2 separate regions of the Homo sapiens genome follow, and region 1 is linked to region 2. Evidence: promoter capture Hi-C in 16 types of primary human blood cells and fetal thymus (Javierre and others, 2016). All regions are on one chromosome and are shown on one strand. The core of a region is centred on a gene start or on the middle of the fragment in contact, and the rest is flanking DNA. Distances in the headings are between cores, read along the strand shown.

Region 1 (5,211 bases), core at 67-2,566, about 11 Mb after region 2:
CTTGGCAGCACAGCAATACATTTTTTTTTTTGTATTCAACATTTTCTGTTATTTTTCAATGGTAAGTTTATTTAGGGCATCTCCATTTTTTTCAAGCTTTTGGAATCTTTTGCTTTCAATTACTCTTAAATACAGCAAATTTATATTTTGCTACAGGTTCCACTCTGAGTCATTTTTTCTTAATAGATTATTACATCCCATTTACCTTTATTGAAAATCTTTCTAAAGTAGTTTGTAGAGGGAAACATTAATTTGTTCAGGTAAATAAATACAGTAATTCTAGTATCCAATAAGAAATTACAAATTCTAGATATGTGAAACTAATTAACACTGGAAAAAAGTAAAACCCCATAACCTTATAGAAATGTGTTGTTCTTGTGGTGGCTCATGCCTGTAATCCCAGCACCTTCAGAAGCTGAGGTGGGAGGATCAGTTGAGGCCAGGTGTTTGAGACTAGCCTGGGCAACATAACAAGACCCTGTCTCTACAAAAAGAAAAGAAAGACATGTATTAGTCTCAGTTAAAGCTTGTATAAAGCAAGCAACAAAAATGCTCAAATATACAAATGCATGGGTAAATAAAGCCCTGAACCTTAATGTGGGAACCGTAAAAGCAAATGTGAATATGGCATTTCAAGACTACATAACTGAGAAGCAAGCCAAACTATAAAATAAATTAATTCCTGTAGAATAAATACAGAGAAAGCAAATGTAACTGTAAAAATGGAGCAAAACATGTTGCAAAATCCTGTGAATGTGAATAGATTTCTATATAGCCATAGAACTTGTAGATTAACAAATGGTTCAAGAAGAACTGGTACAATGGAGACAGAAAAATGACTTCCAATGTTACAACTGCTTATAGAAAAGATAAATATTCACTTATGTACAACAAGCAATAAAAAAGGAAGACGTCTAATAGAAATTGGCTTTTGAATGACCGTAATTATTAACAAGAAAATAATTTTAGAAGTATCAGATAGGTTCTATTCTTCATTCTCAAAATCTAGACTACCATTTCTGCTGGAATCCAGATTATATACTTCATCTGTGTCACTCATTGCATTAAGAGTCATCAGTCCTTTAAACCAGCGGTCCCCAACCTATTTGGCACCAGGGACAGGTTTCGTGGAAGACAATTTTTCCACGGACCAGGGGCCTGGGAGGGATGGTGTCAGGATGAAACCGTTCCACCTCAGATCATCAGGCATTTTCTCATAAGGAGCACGCAACCTAGATCCCTTGCATCTGCAGTTCACAATAAGGTTCACACTCCTATAAGAATCTAATGCTGCTGCTGCTGTGACAGGAAGCGGAGCTCAGGCGGTAATGCTTGCTCGCCCTTCGCTCACTTCCTGCTGTGCAGCCCCATTCCTGACAGGCCATGGACCTGTACCGGTCTGCAGCCCAGGAGTTGGAGACCCCTTCGTTAAGAGATCAACCAACTCTTCAATATGTCAAGATTTATGTGGGTAATTATATCAGAGGAGAGAAGGCTCTGGTCTTGTCCTCTTATAAGGGCACTAATCCCACCATGGGGGCTCTACTGTCATGACCTCATCTAAACCCAGTTATATCCTAAAAGCGCCATCTCCAAATACCATCACATTGAGGATTAGGGCTTCAGCATAAAAATTTGGGGGAGATACAAATATTCAGTCCATATCAGCATATGGATGGTGGTTGGAATATAGAAGAATAAGACTCTCCAGGTAGAGGGTATATAGAGTGCTAAGAACAGAACCTGGGTGTGACTTGCAATTGGAGTGCACACAGAGGAAGAGAAGTTGAGTAGGAGTCTAGAGGGAGTGATCAGAAATATGAGGGCAGAACCATGCTCAAAGGAACTCCAAAGGGCTTAAATTTGAGCGACAGAGGTACTCAGAGAACATTTGCTTTTGGGAGTCTCATCCTGGAGAAGATATCTTTGTATCTCTTATTTCCCACCAAACTAAGTGAACTTTCATCAGTTATTTCTAGTCAAAAAGGTAAATGTGAAATATTAAGTAGTCCAGTTGAAGCAGACCTTTCATTATTTGATCATTGAGTGACCTATAGCCTCAGTTCCAAATTCTTAAGATAGGGACAAAGTTACCTGTTTTATAATAAAGCTTAAAAAAAAATTCCCTACCCTGCTCTGTCCCACTTGACCTCTGAAATCTCCTAGTTGGTCAGCTACCAGGAACAGGTAATGGTTGTGTTGAAATCGGCCCACTTTCCATACTTTTGGGACATGTTTTAAGGCTTCATTTGCAAATGTTAAGATCTTAGACAGTGCTAGTTGCCAAGAGCCACCTACAAAGGTAATGCCAGTCCTCGGACCCAAATCCCAGGGGACTCTAGGTCTCAGGTGCAGAGCCTAAATTAAGAACCAACTCAGTAACAAAATTCTCCTTAATCCTTGGAAGCTAAAGATCCAGCTTTGAAAAATGTATTTCCATGTAATATATTGATACTTTTGTTGTGCTCATTATATACTATAAAACACTTGCAATTCATTTATGCTAGTTGAGTCTCTTTATTTATTTACTTATTTTGAGATGGAGTCTCACTCTGTCACCCAGGCTGGAGTGCAGTGGGACGATCTGAGCTCGCTGCAACTTCTGCCCCTCCTCCCTCCAGGTTCAAGCAATTCTCCTGCCTCAGCCTCCCAAGTAGCTAGGATTACAGGCACACGCCACCTTGCCCGGCTAATTTTTGTATTTTTAGTACAGACAGGGTTTTGCCATGTTGGCCAGGCTGGTCTCAAATTCCTGACCTCAGGTGATCCACCTGCCTTGGCCTCCCAAAGTGCTGGGATTACAGGCATGAACCACCACACCTGGTCTTGTTGAGGATTCTTGCATCTATGTTCATCAGGGATACTGGCCTATAGATTTTTTTTCTTGTGTCCATATCTAGTTTTGGTATCAGGGTAATGCTGCCCTCACAGGATGAGTTTGAGAACTGGTATGAGTTCTTCTTTAACTGTTCAGTAGAATTCAGCAGTGAAGCCATCAGGGCCTGGACTTTTCTTTGATGGGAGACTCTATATTACTGATTTAATCTCATTACTCATAGTTGGTCTTTTCAGGTTTTCTATTTCTTCTTGGTCCAATTTTGGTAAGTTGTATCTGTTCAGGAATTTATCCATTTCCATTTGGTTTCCAATTTGTTGGCATATAGTTGTTCATAATAGTCTCTAATGATCCTTTGTATTTCTGTGGTATCGGTTTAATGTCTTCTAGGCCCCTGCTGCTTTCAACACCCTGAAGGGTACAAAAAAAAAAAAATTAAGGTCTTTCCTTCAATGATTTTATTCTTAATTAAGGAGAACAATCACATGAAGAAAATAATAAGTAAATGATAAACTATGTTGTTCTGATTTTAAGAATGACAGTTTTAAAGGGAGTGATCACTATCAGCTAGAAGGATTAAGAAAAACATAAGGAAAGAGGTGAAAAATAAAGATCCATAGATATAATGAGCCCAGATAATTGATTAGTCTGGATTCCCTGGAACAATCCCAGCTGGAAATGTTTTGTATCATTACCTTCATGGGACGCACTGGAGTTTCAAAATTTAACAGTGACTAGTATAATAATTAAGGACACAATTATTCCAAAGACTTGGAACACAAAATTACTCCAAAGACTTGGAACACAAAAGGTTATCCAATTTAAACAAAAGCAACCTTGCAGATTTTATTCCTACCTTAAAGTAGTTTGCTGAGCACTTACAGTAATGTTCCAGGCACGGCAAGGAGCGACCTGCGTTAGCCAGGCAGAATGCCCGCCTTCACTGAGCTTATTTCTTTCATGGTTTTTTTTTTTTTTTTTGAGACGGAGTCTCGCTCTCTCGCCCAGAAAATGGCGTGATCTCGGCCCACTGCAACCTCCGCCTCCGCCCCCGACCCCGGGGTTCAAGCGATTCTCCTGCCTCAGCCTCCCGAGTAGCTGGGATTGCAGGAGCCCGCCCAGCCACCCAAGCAGCTGGGATTGCAGGCGCCCGCCCCCATGCCCGGCTAATTTTTGTATTTTTTTTTTTTTTTTTAGTAGAAACGGGGTTTCACCACGCTGGCCAGGCTGGTCTCAAACTCCTGACCCCAAGTGATTCGCCCACCTCGGCCTCCCAAAGTGCTGGGATTACAGTCACCACGCCCGGCCAGTTTATTTCTTTCAAGAGACACTGGCGTTCAGACTATCTGAATCAATCCGGTAACTACGCCCACTGAACACCTACTACATGCCAGGTATTGAACTAAGCCGCCCTTCATATGCCATCTCATGTAATTATCTCAACAACCCTACCAAGTTAGCAGCAAGGTTTCCAGTTCTGCCTTCGAAGGGAACCTCCTCTCACCGGAGATCCCTATGACAGACCCTGCGAAATATTTTGCTGCATCAGAATGCTACAGGCCGTCAACTCCCTAACATGCGCAAAAGCGGGCAGCCGATTATCCAGGGTAGTGGATTATCCAGGAGAGTGGATTATCCAGAGTAGCAGGTCTGGCGCGATGCCCGCCCGGCTCAGCCCATCTCCCTAGCAACGAAACCCTTCCGCGCCGCGAGGTTGCTGAGCCCCGCCCCCTCCATTGGCGCGCCCTCGCCATCCCCCGCCCTGGCACGCGCTCTGCGCATGCGTACGCTCGCTGGCCCCGCCCCCTAGCGCCGCGGTCGGAGCCATTTCGCCGATTCCTCCATGCGAGTTGCTGTGCGTTTCTCTGTTGTCTCGGTAGAAGGCCAGAGTCACACACGGTCCTAAGAGCTGGGCACCAGGAAGCGAAGGCTGGTAAGGGAGAGACGTTCCGGCTACCATGCGGGGCGGCGGGGTCGCGGGCGGGCGCCGTGGACCATGGCTCCGCAGCCGGCTTTGTTGCGAAGCGCGGGCGGCGGCGGCGGCTGGGGGTGGGGGAAGGGACGAGCCGCCCGCGGGTCCCCGGATTGCGGGTTGCGTGCGCGCCTCGCCGCGATGCGCTTGCGCCGTCCGGGCAGCCTGTGGCCCCCTCCCCTCTCCTCCGCCCAGCGTTTCCCGCTGCTGCCTCTAGCAGGCAAAGCGCGCTTCCTCCTCTGGCCTGCGTACGCCGGGGCACCGCGGCGGCTGAGGGAAGGGGGTGCTTCGCCTGTGGTGGTTGCCGCCGGGGCGCCACTGGCCTAGGGCTCTTCATTCATTCAAGCCACGAATAACTGGCGCCGTCGTGCAGGCCTTGTGGGTAGAGGAAAAAAAATTGAAG
Region 2 (5,221 bases), core at 1,359-3,858:
GTTTGGCTACACAGAAAATGCACTCAGCGGGGCCAGGCACAGTGGCTCACACCTGTAATCCCAGCACGTTGGGAGGCTGAGGCAGGCGAATCACATGCGGTCAGGAGTTTGAGACCAGCCTGGCCAACATGGCGAAACCCCATCTCAACCAAAAATACAAAAATTAGCTGGGCGTGGTGGCGCCTTTGTGTAATCCCAACTACTCGGGAGGCTGAGGCAGGAGAACCGCTCGAACCTGGGAGGTGAAGGTTGCAGTAAGCTGAGATTACGCCACCTGGACAACAGAGTGAGACTCCATGGGGAAAAAAAAAAAGAAAGAAGGAAGGAAGGAAGGAAGAAAAGGCAGGCAGGCAAGGAAGGAAGGAAGGGAGGGAGGGAGGGGAGGGGAAGGGAGGGAGGGAGGGAGGGGAGGGGAGAAGGAGGGAGGGAGGGGAGGGGAGGGGAGGGAAATGAGAAAATGTACTCAAGAAAAGATAGCACCTTGGGTCCATGCTGGCATACCGGAGGCTTTCTGTTTCTGGCAAAAATTAAAAGAAAAAAAGAAAAAAAAAGTATTGGCTTTGCAGTTGTTGAGTGTTCAGGTGTATAAATTAAAGCTCTTAGAAATTAATAATTTAATACATGTCTTTTTTTTTTTTTTTTTTTTTTTGAGACAGAGTCTCGCTCTCTCGCTCTGTTGCCCAGGCTGGAGTGCAGTGGCAGGATCTGTGCTCACTGCAAGCTCCGCCTCCTGGGTTCACGCCATTCTCCTGCTTCAGCCTCCTGAGTAGCTGGGACTACAGGCGCCCGCCACCACGCCCGGCTAATTTTTTTTTGTATTTTTTAGTAGAGACTGGGTTTCACCGTGTTAGCCAGGATGGTCTCGATCTCCTGACCTTGTGATCCGCCCGCCTCGGCCTCCCAAAGTGCTGGGATTACAGGCGTGAGCCACCGCGCCCGGCCATACGTGTCAGTCTTATGACCTTGGTTAATGTAATTTCATCTGATTGCTGAAGTTGTTCTCCATTGCTCAAGACAGATGATTTGGCTGGGCGTGGTGGCTCATGCCGGTAATTCCGGCACTTTGGGAGGCCAATGCGGGAGGCTTGCTTGAGCTCAGGAGTTCGAAACCAGCCCAGTCAACATAGCAAGACCTCGTCTCTACTGGCAAAAAAAAAAAAAAAAAAAAAAAAAAGCCAGGTTTTGTGGCAAGCACCTGTAGTCCCACCTACCTGGGAGGCTGAGACAGGTGGATTGCTTGAGCCTGGGAGGTTGAGGCTTCAGTGACCTGTGATTATGCCACTACACTCCAGCCTGGGCAGCAAAGTGAGACCCTGCCTCCAAAAAAACAAAGAAAGATGTTTCTGTGACCAGGACACTATAGACCAGATCCTAGAAGGTTGTAGAAATTCACTAAAGTAATGCTTCCTTGTCCTCTTGTGGATGATCAGTAGGCTTTCCCCTGGCAATGACCCTATATCAATAAAAAAACTTTTTCTTTTCTTCTTTTCTATTTTTTCGAGAAAGAGTCTCGCTGCAGCCTCAACCTCCTGTGCTCAAGTGATCCTTTTGCCTCCAGCCTCCCAGGTAGCTAGGACTATAAGCATGTGCCACTATGCCTAGCTAGCTTTTTTTCTTTTTAATTTTTTTGCAGAGGTAGGGTCTCACTATGTTGCCCAGATTGGTCTTGAACTCCTGGTCTCAAGCAATCCTTTTGCCTTGACCTACCAAAGTATTAGTATTACAGGCATGAGCCACCAAGCAAGTCCAGACTTTTCTACTTCAAATTAATATTAGTGGGGAGGGAGGTGTTCATAATTTACCTCTCTTTATTATTTCATTTATTCTAACATTGCTACAGTGACAATTCCATGGACATACACCAGCTACTGGCGGGGAAGATCGTTCAGACCAGAAGTGGTAAGAAATCCTTGAATTTTAAATATGTCATAGGTAGTTCACAAAGAGGACAAAAGATACCATTTACTAAACATTCGCCATCTGTTCTGACATAATATTATCATCATTGTAGTCTCCCACTTCCAGATACACTCATCTGCCTATGTTACACTTGCCTAGTAAAAGCCAGCATGGGTGAATCTTACTATTCAACGGAGCTGAACACTGTGATGGAGAGATCATATAAATAAACTGAATGGCTTATCTCACATCCATAATTAGAAACTTAAAAAGTGCTCTCAGCAGCCCATGCTACTCTGTTCCTCACACTAGTTTTACTTTCACTCTCTGTGATAACTTTTCAATACACCAAGACTTCTCAGCTTGCCCCAAATTCACTGAGACATACTGGCGAACTGCTGGTTCAACCATTTACACATCCACCCACCAGACATAAGAGTGCTCATTTCACTGAGGCTTATTATCAACTTGTAAACGTGGTCAATTCAAGACTTCTTAGAAAGGTCTCAGGTCCAAGCTTTGTCCTGAAAAGATAATTCTGATTGCAGAAACTCCCTCCGTCCAGCAGGAAGCGCCAGCACCCTCTGTCGGGGTTGGGCCGCCACGGAGGCTTCACGTGATCCGGCCGTCTCTGCGCAGGAGTGTGGTCTTGCGGAGATTTGACCTACGTACTTAGCGTCATGACGTAGTACGTAGGGGCTGGCTAGCCGCCATCTTGCTTCTTTTTCTCGCTCGCTCGCTCCCCCTCGGAAAGCTGCGAAAGTGCTTTGGCGGTTTGTCCATCCGCAGCTTCGGCTTTTCCAGTCTGGTGGCCCTTCCGGCCACCCCTTTAACCCCAGCTTTCCCTCCCCCTTCTTTCGATCAGAGATCGGCGGAGACCCTCGAAGTGCGCAAACTTGACACTCACCCTGACCGGTAAGGAAAGCGAGGGTGTGGGGGCCGCGATCAAAGAGGGCCCCATCGGGAACGGCCAGAGTGCGGCCTGGGGCGTGGGAGCGCACCCAGACCCTGGCGCCCGGAGGCTAGGGGGCCGCGTGGAGAGGGCCTTGGGTCCGGGCATTTCCCTTCTGTTTGGTTACCATCATCTCTGTGTCTGGGGAAGTCGGCCTCCAGCTTGGGGAGCGGGAAACCGGAGTCAGACCCGCCCCATGTGGTCTGCAGCGGGAGTTCTGGACCGGTCTGTCTTGCTCCCACCTAGACCCCAGTCCTGGCCCTGCGAGGGGATTACGCATGTTGCCGGGTAAGCGAAGGGGGTTTCCGTCTTCCTGGACTGGCGGACGTGAAGTCTTTTTTTTTTTTTTTTTTTTTTAGTGTCGGGTATGCGTTTCCCCAAACAACTGAAGGACTCAGCCGGGGCTTTCACTGTCTACCTCTTCCTGTGTAGTGAGGGTGGGACTTGCAATGAGCAATGTATGGGAGGGTCTGGTTTAAAGACCTGGTTAGATGAGAGGCTCTTCGGGGAATCAAGACCAACCCTACTTCCGCTAGGGAAGTGCTGCCCAACTCCGGAGGAGGATTTGGGTAGTCTTTTCACACTCTAGGCCGCTCCATCCTCTAACTTGCGTGGTGAATCTCGGTAGCTCCCTGTCTTTGAGATAGCGTTGATATTGGTGGTGTCAGGGTAAAGGCCCCGTTTTAGGACTGAAGAAAAGGGCATGGGGCCACTATAGAGACATTGATAGAGTCTTCCTTCCTTTGCATGAGAGGAGTACCTTTAATTTAAAGGGATGTATGTGTGTTTTGACATTATTTGGGATCTTTTGAGGGTCTGACATGCCTGATGTTTGCTGGCTTATAAAGCTACCTGGATTTCCGCATTGGCTGGTTTTCAGCCTGGGTTCATAGATTCATACCTCGTTAGAGTACTTAGAATTGTACAGTAGGCGGCTCTGCTGTAAGATTTTCATTTGGAATGCACCAGAAGAATCGGAGGATTTTTTGATTGTTGAGTACTTAATAGCTTACTCCTGCAAATAAAAATAATAGGGTGATACTAAGCACCTACCAAGCCTAACCCCACCATTTTTCAAAACTAGATTTCACCTCCCATATTGGTAATTAAGATGCTGCTTTGACTGGAGCCATTTTTAGGTGTGTGTCACAGATGCACTGCAGCATCTTTTCTGGCTCACCCCAAATGCATTGATCCCCTAAAAAATTAGGAATAAATTGAACTTGAATTTTGTCTTTAGCATGTAGTCAAATAGTAATTCTCTCCTTTTCTGTAAGTGGATTTTCAGAATATAGCCTTTTTAAGTGATTGTGTTTGCTCTGCTTAGCTTATGTGTGGCTGTTCTCCATTAGGTGACCTTTTGCTATACACTGAGCACAGTAATAAGTCCTTTTCATACATTTTTTTTTTAATCTCCACAACAGACCTTTGAGAAAAGTGCTATTAAGATCATCCCCATTTTACAGATGAGGAAATGAAATCTGAGAGAGTAGTCTGACCAAGGTCACATAGCAGTTATTGGTGGTATTGTGTAGGTTCAATTCCATACTGTCTGAACCCAAAGGGGATGCTCTAAACCTTCAACCTGCTTTTTAAATTATAAACTACAGTAACTAAATAAGATAAAGCATTATTAACTAGTAGTTTTTCTTTAGCTTGACTAGTATATGAATATTGTTGCATGCTAAGGTTAAAGTTTTGAAAGTTGTAAAAATGGAATATATCCACTTTGGACTTGGGGTAGAGGCTAATTTTTTTGTGTCCTTTTCTATTTGAGTGCTTAGAGATAACTTAAAACTAACTCTACCATGTCGTAGATATAATTTTTAAATTTAGGCGTCTGATCTATATTATTGGTAGAATATTCCCTCATCTGTAAAATGGTGATGATAATAGGACTTCCCTCAGAGGCTTTTATAGGAGTAAAAAAAGATAATGGATAATGTATGTAAAGGGCTTATTACTATGCTTAGTGCATAGTAAAAGGTCAACTAATAGTGGAGGGAGAATGGTAGGATATTGGTAGAAGAAAATACTCTCTTCCAAGCAATAAATAATCTGTAAATTCTCAGGGTGATGTATATATTTCTTTAGGTACATAAGAAAATTTCACCTCCCCTTATCCCTGATATGTCTACTTATATGCAGGATTTTGCTTCTTAGCGATTTCTTTATGCTCTACAGTAAATATCCCTGGGATGAGTATCTTGTTCATAGCTGAAAATGCAGAAGTTCTGGCTCATTCCAGCCCCCTCTCTTCTTCTTACCCCCACCCCACCCTCTTTAGTGATAAAATGTCTTTGAAGATTATATTATATCCCTGTCTGCCTCCAAGTGCCACCCCTAAACACTACTTCAGTTTGTTAGTTA

What was found. The method cuts DNA at HindIII sites, captures the fragments that hold promoters and counts their contacts. A CHiCAGO score of 5 or more calls a contact.
Region 1: a contact is called between a fragment that was not itself captured here and the fragment with the promoter of PRRC2C in region 2, in 1 of 17 cell types (total B cells). The highest score is 7.2, in total B cells.

Annotation. Positions count from the first base shown.
Region 1 is chr1:182,834,688-182,839,898 of GRCh38, forward strand. It overlaps DHX9-AS1 (DHX9 antisense RNA 1), which reads right to left and starts at 4,904. Exons shown (of 2, transcript NR_148933.1): 1 at 4,625-4,904; 2 at 1-3,247. DHX9 (DExH-box helicase 9) reads left to right here and starts at 4,660. Exons shown (of 28, transcript NM_001357.5): 1 at 4,660-4,769. RefSeq lists an enhancer at 4,285-5,126 and a silencer at 4,550-4,979. The HindIII fragment of the contact is 1,584 bases long and covers 525-2,108 here.
Region 2 is chr1:171,482,922-171,488,142 of GRCh38, forward strand. PRRC2C (proline rich coiled-coil 2C) reads left to right here and starts at 2,609. Exons shown (of 35, transcript NM_001387844.1): 1 at 2,609-2,814. RefSeq lists enhancers at 2,198-2,507, 2,414-3,162. The HindIII fragment of the contact is 3,004 bases long and covers 2,415-5,221 here.